Regions from separate parts of the Homo sapiens genome. Here all the other regions are linked to region 3. The links are contacts of gene promoters, found by promoter capture Hi-C in blood cells and fetal thymus (Javierre and others, 2016). All regions are on one chromosome and are shown on one strand. Each heading gives the region's core, a stretch centred on a gene start or on the middle of the fragment in contact. The rest is flanking DNA. Distances are from core to core; before and after follow the strand shown.

Region 1 (3,380 bases), core at 152-2,651, 1.1 Mb after region 3:
TTCAGCAGACTTCACAGTTGGGACCTTCGTTAAGATTCCAGAAGGAAGCAATGAAATCCTAATTCTGTTACACCAGAACTTTTGTTTTTCTTTCCATGACCACAACAGAGGGGCCGCCTGCTTTCCTGCCCAGCATCCATCCTGAAAGAACAATGAGAGGAAGGGTACCATGCTGCCATTTACACTGCTTTCCCGGATTCCCATTTTAAGAGATGACCTGACCATGCATTTTTATCTCTTTTCCTTCCAGAAGCTCTGCTAAGATGACAGTAAAGGAAGTTAGAGATTGGGGGAAAATCAAAAACACCACCACCAAACATGACAAGAACATTGGAGAGCAGACAATAGAAAACGAGAAATGTCAAAGAATTTTTTAAAGACAGAAAAGTAGTAGAGGATTGTTAGCAGACAGAAGAGGAGACAAAGCTGCTACCTCTGTGCCGGTGGCCACTCAATGCCATGTGCTCCCAGATGCTGAGGGGCTCCACAGCTGGGGTTCAGGTGGCAGAAAGACGGTGCGCTGCCTGTTGCTGTCCATGCCATCCCATCGCATGAGAGGCACAGGACTGATTCCTCAGAAACCCCAGCCCAAGAAGCTTCGGGCACGGGAAGACCCAGCTCACACAGGGCTGGGCTGGGCGTCACGGAGCACGGGAGGAGCCAGTTACCATCTGTGCTCTGAGGCCTGGGCCCTCTGCCGCTGTCCCCTGCTCTGCTGCAATCGCACCTTTGGCCTGGGTCACTCCCCGAGGGGACACTGGAGGATTCCCATTCTGGCGGAAAGGCCCTAGAAATATTAATAATTCCGCCAGTGGGCGGCAGCACAAAGGCTGGCCTCTTCCCCACTGTCAGTGGACGGGCACCGCCACTCCACATACCCGGGACAAGTCGTCTGTCTTCCAGCACCTCGTTCTAAAACCTGACTGGAGAGCAACAAACCACCGGACATGGGAGGAAAGCCTTTAGCATGAAGGAGACTATAACAAATCTATAATTTTTTTCTCAATGCTATTTAACATCATGCAATACTAAATCGCCAAATTTAGTACTTCACAAAGTACTAAAAATAACTGAGTCACAGTAAGGTGAATGCTATTATTTTACCAAAAAAAGTATGCATTATTTCAAAAAAAAGAAGGATGAGGGGAGAAAAGAGATGGTGTGAGAGAGCCAGCATCATCTGCCTTGGCAGAAACTCAAAAGAAAATGCCTAACATGACAAATTCATAAATAATGGCACAAGCATATTACCTAGCAAACACCGGGGCAAATAATTATGTATAGCTGTGTAAACCAACATGGAACATTCTCTAAGAAATAGTGCAGAGTGAGAAAAGCGAGATAGAGATGCGTTTAATGTGCTACCATTGACTTTTTTTTTAAAAAAAAAGGTTACACATTCATGTGTTTGTCTATGAAACTCACTGAGAAAGCACAAAAAAAGCACAAAGATCAAGTTTAGGTGTCTGGGGTCGGGGGTGAAGCTCACCTGTAATGGTGAGCTTCCGTACTGTTTAAATTCTTGATCACTTGTTATTTTCATAGTAATGATGGAGAGAAAAACCAAAGTGCTCACGAAGGAAGCGTCTAACTCAGGGGCAGACCGCAGCTCTAAGGCAAGGGTCGCAAGGGTCTTCCACAAGGGCGGTGTGCTCCTCGGGGAGAAGACAGCAGAGCTTCTCTATGTACATTATACTAAAAGGCTGCCTTTACACAGCTTGTCTGACGAATGCCCTCCTCAGTCCAATGTGAGCGTCATGAGCTGTATATTGGAAGGGAGGTACCCCCAGGAACAGTAGGAGCTTAGAGGTTGGCGGTTGGCAGGGGACGTCCGTGCACTGCTCAGGTCCAGTGCATTGCAACCAATTGTAGGTTACATGTGCCCAGTTAAGTGGATTTGCAGATCATACCATCTGGCTTTAACTAAGCTAAAGCAACGCTCACAAAACAGGTAAGTGCTTAAGAGGATGCCTGAAAAACAACCACATGGGCTGAAGCTAATGTTAAACACACAGGACCAATCAACAAGAAGCCACGTGGCAGGCCTAAGACTGAGCCCTGAGCTCCCAGGGTTCTCGCTATCAGTCACATGATGAGGTCAAAGCACTGATGATTTCATCAGATATGAAAAGAATAGTTCACAACAATTAAAATGACTGGGAAGACTTTATTTAAAATGTGGGCTTCCATTCATTTTTGTTCATGATAAAGCTTCCCTAAGTGTACACTGTGCCTAGAGATACCAGCTAATGATACTCCAGAGCTATCAAAATGCGCAAGTCATTTAAAATCTAAGCACTCAGGACCTGAAGACAAACAACTCTAGTTTTCTTCACTATGTTTAACATTGGGCAGTACTACACTACAAATTCAGTACTTCACAAAATTTTATTAATTTAATGATTAACATGTAGAAGCTTCTTTCTGGGTTCCTCTGCTAGGAAAAGACTAAAAACCACATATTACTGGAGAAGCACTTGCTATTTCTACCAAGGCAAAAATGGCTTAAAGCATGTAAAAACCAATATGGCATCAAATTTGAATGAATTCCTTTGTCAGCAAATACTGCGGGCAGAGGCATAGAAACACCAGTCAATATTTGAAGACTCAAGGATTAGAATAAATTACACAGCCTATGAAGTTTGCTTTAGAATTGCATCAAAGTAAAGATGATTCTAACATTTCTCTGCTTCGGGTATTTGCTAACTTATTTCCTGTATTCAAAGAACTACTGTGTATGGTTGAGAGGGAAGAAGAATGCAAGCACTTTAAAAAAAAGTTGTGGAATTTAGGAGATGAGTCATGCACTTTTCCCTTATAAAACATGTGTTCCAAATTCATGGACCTTTGCAGGGGTCAGAGGTGCTTCTCAGTAGTATGTTACCTAGCAGGGGGAAAAAAAAATCAGCACACTTTACGCTTCCTTTCAAAGTAAAGGTGAGACTCAACATTGAGTAAGAAATTAACTGCTTTTCAAGAGAAACCAAAGCTTTGAAAGAGTATTATACAAACAGATGTTTGAAAATATTTCCACTGTTTTGTTATCTTTTTGCCAAAAACAATGAAACTGTGTCACCTATGAAAACTTTTATATCAGCACACTTAGTAACTTGGAAATAGAATATTCTAGTGTATTAGAAATCTTGCCAGAGAGTTTCAAACCCATTTGTTAATGGTTTTTGAATCTATTTGTTAAAAGTTTAAAAACACAATAAACTTCCAATAAGTTTCAGAATAAAATTTTATCATCTGAAAGTCAACTAAAAACCTTTGTATAACTGGCGAGATGTGTTGAGAAAAGGAGCATAATAATTTCGTATGATTTAGTAAAAATGGCCAGTGATACAGTTCTTCCACTTGTATTTACAAATCTTTGTGGG
Region 2 (3,398 bases), core at 283-2,782, 1.0 Mb after region 3:
CATTGGGGAAGGGAGCCAAGACCAGGCTGGGGGGGTCTCCCCAGGGCCGATCTTCCATCCCCCTGGTGCTCAGTGCCCCCAGGACTGGAAGATCCGAGGGACGCTGCTGCTGGCCCAGGGAAAATGTTCAATGTTTCTCAGGGCGATTCAGAGCAGCCCAAAGCTGACCCATCAGATGGAGACAGATAATGTGAACCATTCATGAAGGCAAACCTGAGAACCCATTCTACGACCACAGTCCGAGCCCCTCTGCACAGCCATGCCCAGCAACTGTTACTTGCCATGGTCTACTTTCCTTCCTTTAGGGATTCCTGAATATGGACCAGAAGTACCTTCCTTTACACACTGATTTTTCACAACGAATGTTCCCAAATACTTTTTAAAAATGGGACATTTGTAATACTTGAGCACTGCCTATGATGCTGGGAACAGGAAGAAACTATTCTACTTTGAATTCTTAACCAAGTTCTTGGGGTGTGTGTGTCTGTGTGTGTGTGTGTCTGTCTGTGTCTGTGTGTGTGTTTCCTCTCCTACAATATAATCCACCCTGCTTCTGATTCTCAGGGAAGCTTCATCTGTATGCAAATGCTGATCATTAGCTTGGGAACAACAAAACACAAAACTCATCCAAGTTTAAATTAATTCACAATAAAAAATTATTAAAAAAAATAGAAAAGGAAGGCCAAGAGTTTAAGCCATGAAACAATGCCAGATGTACAGGTTCCATCACAACTGAGAGCACTGGCAAGAACAGAGTTTATCTATGCCACAAGCCAGAAAGGGAGATGAAACTGTGAAAAAAGCAAGGCAAATTAAAACTAGAATATCCAATCTCTAAGTATAATTTACTCCAAGATATGTTTACCAGATGCCTACTTGTCCGAGGCGCTATCTTAGGCATTGCAGGGGGATTAAAAAAAAAAAAGTTAAGTAGAAGAACATACTTGCCCTTGAGGCACTTACACATCAGGAGAATGAATGAGGCAACCAAGATTCATTAACTCCCATATGCCATGCCTCACGCTGGACACAATACATATGTATCTTATTTAATTCTCAAAACATCCCTGCAAATGTAGGTAAAATTATCCCTATTTTAACAGATGAAGAGACGGAGGGTCATAGAGGTTCAGCAACTTACACAAGGTTAACAAGTCATAAAAGAACAACATGTGACTTTAGAGGTCACTCTGGCTTTCTTCCCTGGGGAAGTCAGACAGAGTCCTGTGTGCTCTGAGCAGTACCGCCAAGGCTTCACGAAAAGAGCTGGTGCTGGCAAGGGCCCTGGAGGATGGCTGGGATTTCCCCAGGGGCAATTCCAGGGGCACAAAATGGCTTGCTTGGGCGAAGACTTTAAGACAGGACAGGACAAGGGTGTATTTGGGAAGTGGATCCAGTGTGTGGGGACTTCAGAGGTTAGGAGACAAGCCCAGACCATTTCCTTCACTTAGACTAGCATTTCTCTAAGCATGGTTCAGAACCCTGGGGTCCCAAGACCAAAACTATACAAAGCCAAAACTATTTTTATAATAATACTGAGAAATTATTTGCCTTTTTCAGCGTCTTGATATTTGTATAAATAATGCAAAAACAATGGTGGGAAGAACTGCTAGCAGTTTAGCATAAGTCAAACAGTGGCAACAGTGGGTATTAGTAGTGTTTGTGATTTAAAAAAAAAAAACAATGAAAAAAACCAGCACCATCTAAGAAACCCAGCGTCATTTCAGAAACCTCTGAAGCCACACATCCTGGTTTTTGTGACTTGTGAGCTGTGTACGAGTTGCTGAACTTCTGGCTAAGATGGTGTGTCATACAAGTAGGCATCTAGTAAACACATGAAAGCATAACATTAAATGTATCAAATCTAGACCCAGGAGTACACGTCTTTTCAATATTCTGTGCAGGAAATATACATAAAGCACTTCTGTTTATAAAGAAGGAATGATTTCTTAAGAACTGTTTTCGTGACGGTTTGAGTTATGAGTTGAACTGGCCATCTTTTTCATGAAACAACACTTTTACTTGAAAGAACAACTGACAGTCTATGTTTATTTAGATCTGGGCATGTGACTGATGTTTGCTACAAAATGAATGAAGCTGCTAGGCTCCCCTGTATGCTGGGGTGCTTGCTACATGTGGTCATTTCACAGAAAACAACTGACAGGGCTTGTGGCCAGTGATAAAATTTGAGATTCCAAGTAAAAAACTGATTTTTAAAAAACTTATATCCACCATCCTGGGCCTGACCGCTTCCCAATATGTAAAAGACTTTTCTGATGACATTGGTGGTAACACTGTTATGACTTTTTGATACTGTATAATGAAATGTGTCAATATTTGGAAGAGTCAAATAACTCAGTGAACCAATGTGTTCCAAATGGCAAGTGCATGCCTTGGCAAAATCACACATTCAAACAATGCATGCAAACCAATCAATGGATTTCGATGAAGAGTACAAAAAGTTCATTGATATGATTTCAGATTTCATAATGTAACTAAGCTTTGAGAAATTACCTCTTGTCAAGCTTTGGTGTAGTATCAAAGAAGAATATCTACAATTATCCAAAAAAGTTGTTAAAACATGCTTTAACAACTTTCCAAACTTCATTATTGTGTGAGTTCAGATTTTCTTCACATACTTCAGCGGCATAACACCACACAGACTGACAGCGGAATCAGACAGGACATTCCAACTATCTCACATTAAGTCAAGACATTACGGAGATTTGCAAAAATGTAAAACAATGCTACTTGTCTCATTCATGTTTTTGCTTTTGGAAAATAGTTATTTTTCATAAAAATGTTAACATGTAATGTTTTTCTCATTTTTAAAGAAACTACATATTCTAATATTTCTTATATTAATTTTTAATACTGTAAATATCCACAGACACAACTCACATCTGCAAAAGCTTTCGAGTGTCCTCTTGTAAGAGCGTGAAAGCGTTGAGACCAAAAAACTTGAGAACCAAATGTCAGAGACCAGAGTTTGGCAAACTTTTCTGCAAACAGTCAGTGGGTAAACGTTTTAGGCTTTGTGGTCCCAAATGGTCTCTGCGGTAACTACCAAACTCTGCCATTACAGTGCAAAAGCAGTAACAGACAATACAGAAACAAGGGGCATCGTGGTATTCCAATAAAAATGTATTTATAAAATTGGCCCAGCCAGCCGCGGTGGTTCATGCCTATAATCCCAGCACTTTGGAAGGCCAAGGTGGGTGGATTGCTTGAGCTCAGGAGTTCAAGATCAGCCTGGGCAACATGGTGAAATCCTGTCTCCACCAAAAAATACAAAAAATTAGCTGAGCATGGTGGTGCGTGCCTGTGGTCCCAGCTACGTGGGAGGACTGCTTGAGCCAGTGGGGCAGAGGTTGCCATGAGCCAAGATTGAGCCACTG
Region 3 (3,329 bases), core at 46-2,545:
AAGACATATCTATTATTTCTTGGCAAATACTATTTGGTGATGTGGTGCAAAAACACAATGGTAAAAAATTTCGGGGTATTTGTAAGTTTTCTGGAGAGTTGCAGGCCCCTTTCCTTTTGAAAGTTTAGAGCTCCAATACCCTCAATTCTACTGGCAGAATTAGGATGGACTTAGAGGGTCCTAAACGTGACCGATTCACTAAGGCGGGGGGGGGGGGGGGCTACAGCTTGCAGCAACGTGCTCTGCAACTTAATCCTACGCTAAAAGAGGGCAGAGAGCGAAAAAGAATGGAATACAAACTCTCCCGACATCCGTAGTTACTTTCAAGGTGGATTGTGTATTTTAAGGCTGATGGGAACGTCTGGTTTGTGGAGCAAAAAGAAGAGAAGGTAAGTGTTTGTCCTTGTATCCACCAGTTCGTAGAGAAACAATGAAAGAACAAAGGGAACCACTTCCCCATCTGAACATTTTCTGTATCTCCCTCCGTTTCAAGCCAAAAAGCTTGGGAAGGGATTCGCTTTACTCTACCTTAAGTAGTGGTTGCTGGCTTGTTGAACTAAGAATGAGAAAAAAGTTGAGAGGCAGATATAGACTAAATAATAATAAAAAAGGCTTGCTGTGGCGGATCTCCACCGCGCCAGTGTCAGCAACTTGCAGCAGAAGTTGCTCAATGCACGGAGGCAAAGCCCAAGAAATACCCTTTGCACACCAGATTTCGAACTCAGTCATTTAAATAGACTTTCTTGCTGTTTGAAGGGGTTTCTGCGCACAAAATGTGTAGGTAGTGGCTATGGGAGAGATGTACTATTTAGGTCGAAAAATGATCTCATGGCTATCTGGAAAAGAATTTTTAAAAAGGAAAGGGGATTCAAGTATCACGTTACTGTTTGCTAATAGAAGAAATGGCAGCACTGGCTGGGAAAGGAGAGGGATTCGTATTGAAATGCATTTGCTTTGGGGTACGCTGGTTATCCGCAAGTCTGGCTTTGTGGGTCTGCGTGGCTGAATAAGTGACCAAGTGCCTTCGGCATTATATAAACGGATCGATGTGTGCGGGAGTCCCCAAAGCCGTCGAGCACGTGAAACGCGACTTTTTACTGCCCTCCAAGCGGCGACCAAGCCCCGCTCCACCCCACCCCGCCTCAAAATCCGTATATTACCTGCCCTGTTACAGTGACACATGTTTATGTTTATAGTCCTGGTTTGTAGTAGTGTCAAGAACCGCAGCAAGAGGAAGGGGAGGAGAGAGGAGAGGGAGGAGTAAATTCAACCACCCCCACTTGTTGTTAAAGCAAATTTACTGCGTTATTGCAAGCTCAGGACGGGGGGCTGGGATGAGAGTTGAGAGGAAGGGTTGAGTTGGGAAGTGTGTTGGCGGTGGAAGGTGGGGGTGGGGTTAAGAGCTCCGCAATGGAGCTCCTCTCCCCAGCAGCCCAGGAAAAGCAGCTCGGTCAATAGGGGAGCATGCTGGCGCGGTCGAAAACAAAAAGGTTCCTCCTGCTCGCTGCGTTCACGTGGGGGGCTCTGCACGCGGGGCTCCAGGGCCGTGACCCCTGACCCCGGCTCCTCTCCGCGCTCTCCGGTGCCGCGCGGCCACTTTTTACCCAGGATCCCTCGCGCGGGCCGCGCTCGTGCCGAGCTGGAGTCCTTCCTAATCCTCCATTCCCGGCTCTCGCTCCCCGCCCCCGCCGCCAGCCCCGGGGGAGGATTCTCCGGCGGGGAACCCCCGCCCCACCCCCACCCCGACTGCCCCGGCGGAGTCGGCCGCAGCGAGTCCGCGCGGGGCGGGGAGGGCCGGGCCGGGCCTCCCCTACCGCGCCGGGCCTGCGAGGGAGGGGAGGGACGGGGAGCCGAGGGGAGGGGGCGCCGGCCTCCCGGCTCAGCTGCCCCACTGAGGCCTGGACCTGTTGACTGCGATTGGCCCGCCTCATCCCGCGCCCTCTCTCTGCTCGCAGCGGCCCCAGCCCTTCCGCGGCGTCGCGGGGAGGAAATGGGGATGGCTGTCCTCCTCTCCGCCTCCTTCTAACTTTCCTTTTTTTATTTGGGTGTGTTGGGGGGGGTGCTGAGAAAGCCCAGGCAACTCCACCGCCGCCCCATCCTGCCTCCGAAAGTCTCGTCACGCCCGACCCGCCGCCGCCCTCCCAGCCCCCATGACTTAAAACCGCCTCCCCTCCTCGCAGCGGCGCCCCGGCCCGGAGCCCGAGAGCCCTCGACGCCCCCGCCGCGCCTCCCCCGCCTGGCCTGGCCCAGCGGCGTCCCCAGCGAATTGTGTCGCTTTTCTGCCCTGGAAGCTCCCTCGGCCACGTTCCACTTTTTTTCCCAGTCCCAGGAGGCGTAAGATAAAACCTCTGATTTGCTGCGTGCTGCCGGGCACATTCTCTGCCCTCTCGTCCGAAGGACGAGTTTAAAATGGAGAGTTTAAAATAATAGCATTTACAGGAGGAAATAAAGAGCGAGGAGATGGTTCTTTGGCCGGTTTTAAGACATACATGCTTTTTTTTTCTTTTAATACAAGATGTCTTAAGGGTTAAAAGCGTTCTAGGGTTTGCTGTATTTCCTTCTAGATTTGGGGTTTCCTGAGGAAATCTTTTCCGGAGGGAAATAGCAAATCAACATTAAGATGGAAGCGAGACTTCTCAGCCACTTTTGGAAATGAAGGGGGAAATTGTAAAAATACATTCAGAAAAGGGCGCGAAGGCGGCGGCTGAGGGGAAGAAGCTGGAGTCTTGGGAGGAAGCGCAGTGGGTTGGAATCGGGGGAAGGAGGGCCCGCTAGGTCCGGGCGGGGAAGAAGGCGTGCGGGCGGCGGGGCGTGCGCCGGGCCGGGCAGCTGGAGGAAGGCGCGGCGGGACTGGCGAGCGCGAAGAGGCAGGCGGGGAAGGCCTCGGGGGGCGGGGGCCGGGCGCGGGGCCGGCGCGCCGGAGGAAGCGGGACCTGGCTCCTCGCGCCCGCCGGGCCGCCCCCATTGTTCTGCCCTAGCACCGCTGTTAGCCGAGCACGTCCTGACCGAGGGAGGGGCCCCGCGGGCCAACCCGACCCCCGTCGGCGCCTCCCCGGGCTCCTGAGCTCCGGCCGGGTCGGGTCGGGCCGGCGCGGCAAGTTTTGATGGTCAGACTCAGCCAGCGAGGGGTTCCCAGCTGAAGACCTCGGAGGAAGGAGCCTTTACAGCGTGCTGCGAAATTGAAGGAAGCCGGGCGAGCCTGCAACGCACACGTTATGAGAAAAAGGGAAAGCAACATAGATATGTTTATAAAGTGATAAATAGATAAGAGACACCCGTGGGCAGTTATTATTCTGGATCCGGAAAGTTACAGTAGATTATATAATATT
Region 4 (3,534 bases), core at 778-3,277, 1.1 Mb after region 3:
ACTTCCCACTTAGAACAAAAAGGAAGAAAATCAAAGTGAATTTCCCCTTGTGGGGTTTTAAATGCTAGCCCCCAAAAAGCAATTATTGCTCTTTGTTAGTGGTCTTACTTTTTTCTTGCAATCACTAATTTGCAAAAGGGTATTTCTTTCAAATAAAACAAGAACTCTAGGAACTGTAAGATTGCAGATTATCTTTGGGCATAAAATCAAAGTGGGAACAATCAAGTTTATGAAAGCCAGGTGGAGCAGACCAAGTGGAACAGACCTTAAACTCTGTCAAACTGACAATACGTGTAAAACAACTTTTGGGGGATGGGGAATAGTAAAGGAGAACTGTATTCAGCACAGGATAGAATTCCAGCAGCCTCAGTTTCATAGATCGTTTTCTTATGCACATTAGATAGGACAGTATAACGTCCTCTCATGGGCCAATAGGGTGAATCAAAAGCTGCATAGTCAGTGCATCTCAAACTTAACAAGCAACTGAATCACCCAGGGATCATGTGAAAATGCAGATTCTGATCCAGCAGGTCAGGGGTGGGGCATTTTCAGAAGTAGATGCTGCTGCTGGAGTGGGTCTGCAGACCACACATGAGAACCAAGGTCTACAGAATGGTGTTTACCCTGTGTTTTACTGGCATGCAGCACGTAAAGTCTAGCGTATTAAGTACATTATAATTACAGACTTACCGGCACTCATGCCTTTCCCATTATATTCTCTACACCTCTAGTTCGATTAAAATGGGAAACTTTATAGTTCAGAATAATAATTCATGGCATTTACTTTACTAATTAAAGAAGGGTTTAATAATACTATGTACCAGTACCAGGACAATGTACAGGGTTTTTTATTTTTATTTTTTGAGACAGGTTCTCACTGTGTTGCCCAGGCTGGAGTACAGTGGTGCGATCTTGGCTCACTGCAGCCTTGATCTCCTGGACTCAAGTGATTCTCGTGCCTCTGCCTCCTGAGTAGCTGGGATTATAGGCATGTGCCACCATGCCCAGCTAATTTTTTTATTTTTAATAGAGACAGGGTTTTGCCATTCTGGCCAGGGTGATCTCGAACTCCTGGCCTCAAGTGATCTATCTGCCTGCCTTGGCCTCCCAAAGTGCTGGGATTACAGGCATGAGCCACCATGCCCAGCGCAACATATGGGTTTATAAAGGGCTGGAAACGTAAAAGCAAATAATGTAGGAACTCCTTAGCTCAGATACTACCTCTTCCCCAGTTTGTGCCTTTTCTTTCAATTTCAAAGGCATTACTATAATCATATATGCAGACACTGGATTAGGATATCAGCCATGTCTTCACCCTGGGATATAAAACCTTAAAAATTCGAATCTTGATTCTGTCTCAAATCACCATTTTAATAATCCACGTGAGTAGCCCCAACCCACACTATCTGAATATTTTTAAGGTTCATGAACATGAAATAACCAATGAAGTTAGGAACACTGTGTCAAAACATAGAATGTACCTTTCATATCACTATGAATATAAAAATACATAAATCAAGTGTATTAAAAGCCTTATCTGATAAGGAGGAAATCAAAAGAGTTCATGCAATTCTATACAAAACACCTGATCCTTGGAATGATTCTAAGGCCTGGAAAAATCCAACTCATTATTTCATATTTATTTTCACAATATTCCTGTGAGAGAGGAAAAGCTAGATCCATTTTTCCCACCTCAAGATAAAGAAACTAGTGTACAATGGAGCCAAGCAATGTGCCTAAGATTCCTGTCTAAAGCTTTCTATGAACTAACCAAAAAGGGCGATTTACAAAGATAAGACTAAACTTCTGTCATCATAATCATAGACTTTTTGTAGCCTTTAAAATAAAGTAAAATTGTTTATGTATTTTTATTATCATTTACTTTCTTGCCTTCTTCCAAGGCATGCAGCAGACATGTGTTTTTAAAGGCAGCACAGTGGCTCATGCCTGTAGTCTCAGCGCTTTGGGGGCTGAGGTGGGCGGATCACTTGAGGCCAGGAGTTCGAGACCAGCCTGGGCAACGTGGTGAAACCCGGTCTCCACTAAAAATACAAAAATCAGCCAGGTGTGGTGGTGCATGCCTGTAATTCCAGCTACTTGGGAGGCTGAGGCACGAGAATTGTTTGAACCTGGGAGGCAGAGATTGCAATGAGCCGAGATCACACCACCGCACTCCAACCTGAGCAGCACAGGGTAATGGTGAGGGCACTGGTCTGAGATCTAGAACATTCATCAGTTCTTGTAGATTGCATTTAGTCTCTTTGAGCCTTAGTTTCCGGGTCTATGAAGTGATGGAAAATAAGCTTGGGGAGAGAACAGGCTGAATTAGACCTCTACCTTGGATCTTTTATGACTCTAAAAATGGATTTACTCAGCCGGGCGCAGTGGGGCACGCCTGTAATCCCAGCACTTTGGGAGGCCAAGGCGGGCAGATCACCTGAGGCTGGGAGTTCGAGACTAGCCTGACCAACATGGAGAAGCCCCGTCTCTACTAAAAATACAAAATTATGCAGGCGTGGTGGGGCATGCCTGTAATCCCAGCTACTCGGGAGGCTGAGGCAGGAGAATCGCTTGAACCTGGGAGGCGGAGGCTGCAGTGAGCTGAGATTGTGCCATTGCACTCCAGCCTGGGCAACAAGAGCAAAACTCCGTCTCAAAAAAAAAAAAAAAAAAAAGGATTTACTCGAAGACTCGACTCGTTGCTCTAGGAAATGCTGTAAAGCATGGGCCTCGGAAGGTGACTCAGGACAACCGTCCCAAGAAACAGAGTCCGATCAGAAGACAGTACAACCATCATCTCAGCAGGGGCCTAATGATGGTTTAGGACACCTGGGCTGAGATGAAAGAGAACATGCAGTGAAAATAACACTTCACAGATTCCAGATGTATTCAGGACAACGTCAGCTAGAACGAGCACATGAGCTCAGGGAAGGAGGTCTTATATCTTCAACACAGTCACTGTGCTGCCTCAAAACAGTCTATCTACTGACACTGAATAAGAAACTCCTCAGTGTGCTTTGTTTTGTTGCAAAGGAAAAAGGAATCACAGCATGATGTTGGATGCTTGGACAAGTTGGGAGGCCCTTGATGGAAACAGAGCTTGGGAGTGACCTTCAGGTGCCCCCGAGGGGTCCCTCCATGTATAAATAAACCTCAAAGAGCATTAGAGTTGGAAGCAACCTTGGAGATGATTCCAAACCACTCAATATACAGATAAGAAAACAGACCCAGAGAGCAGAAATGACTTGCCCAACTCAGTTCTCCAACATCAGGTGGGCTGGTGTACATGGAGGGCCCTGCAGGGGCCCTGCCCAGAGCCTCCATCTCCCCCTGCCGTGCTGCTTCCCTGCCTGGGCTCCAGAGTATGGTGGGCATTATGAAGGGACAGTCATTTTTCTATAGTGACATACACCTTCTAATGCCAATTTAGAGTGTGAGCCAGCTGGCACAAAACCAAACCTGTCTTCAGGTTTTCGATTTTGCCAAGTAAAGTGTGTAGAAAATATCAGTAACAGCCACAGTGCTAATGCAGTC

Evidence for each region. Contacts are between HindIII fragments. The CHiCAGO score rates a contact against its expected background, and 5 or more counts as called.
Region 1: a contact is called between a fragment that was not itself captured here and the fragment with the promoter of SKIDA1 in region 3, in 1 of 17 cell types (non-activated CD4 T cells). The highest score is 5.5, in non-activated CD4 T cells.
Region 2: a contact is called between a fragment that was not itself captured here and the fragment with the promoter of SKIDA1 in region 3, in 1 of 17 cell types (naive B cells). The highest score is 6.4, in naive B cells.
Region 4: a fragment that was not itself captured here is called in contact with the fragment with the promoter of SKIDA1 in region 3 in 1 of 17 cell types (total B cells); the score reaches 6.4 in total B cells.

The regions. Positions count from the first base shown.
Region 1 is chr10:22,621,792-22,625,171 of GRCh38, forward strand. The region is part of intron 1 of PIP4K2A (phosphatidylinositol-5-phosphate 4-kinase type 2 alpha); the gene reads right to left. Among named protein-coding and RNA genes, the nearest start is that of PIP4K2A, 91 kb to the right of the region's middle. RefSeq lists an enhancer at 1,835-2,335. The HindIII fragment of the contact is 1,615 bases long and covers 595-2,209 here.
Region 2 is chr10:22,569,171-22,572,568 of GRCh38, forward strand. All of the region lies in intron 5 of PIP4K2A (phosphatidylinositol-5-phosphate 4-kinase type 2 alpha), which reads right to left. Among named protein-coding and RNA genes, the nearest start is that of LINC03027, 130 kb to the left of the region's middle. The HindIII fragment of the contact is 1,931 bases long and covers 568-2,498 here.
Region 3 is chr10:21,524,387-21,527,715 of GRCh38, forward strand. It overlaps SKIDA1 (SKI/DACH domain containing 1), which reads right to left and starts at 1,296. Exons shown (of 4, transcript NM_207371.4): 1 at 1,161-1,296. RefSeq lists enhancers at 688-1,331, 1,332-1,975 and silencers at 1,631-2,050, 2,171-2,320, 2,766-2,885, 2,896-3,215, 3,075-3,233. The HindIII fragment of the contact is 4,259 bases long and covers 500-3,329 here.
Region 4 is chr10:22,593,551-22,597,084 of GRCh38, forward strand. The region is part of intron 3 of PIP4K2A (phosphatidylinositol-5-phosphate 4-kinase type 2 alpha); the gene reads right to left. Among named protein-coding and RNA genes, the nearest start is that of PIP4K2A, 120 kb to the right of the region's middle. The HindIII fragment of the contact is 548 bases long and covers 1,754-2,301 here.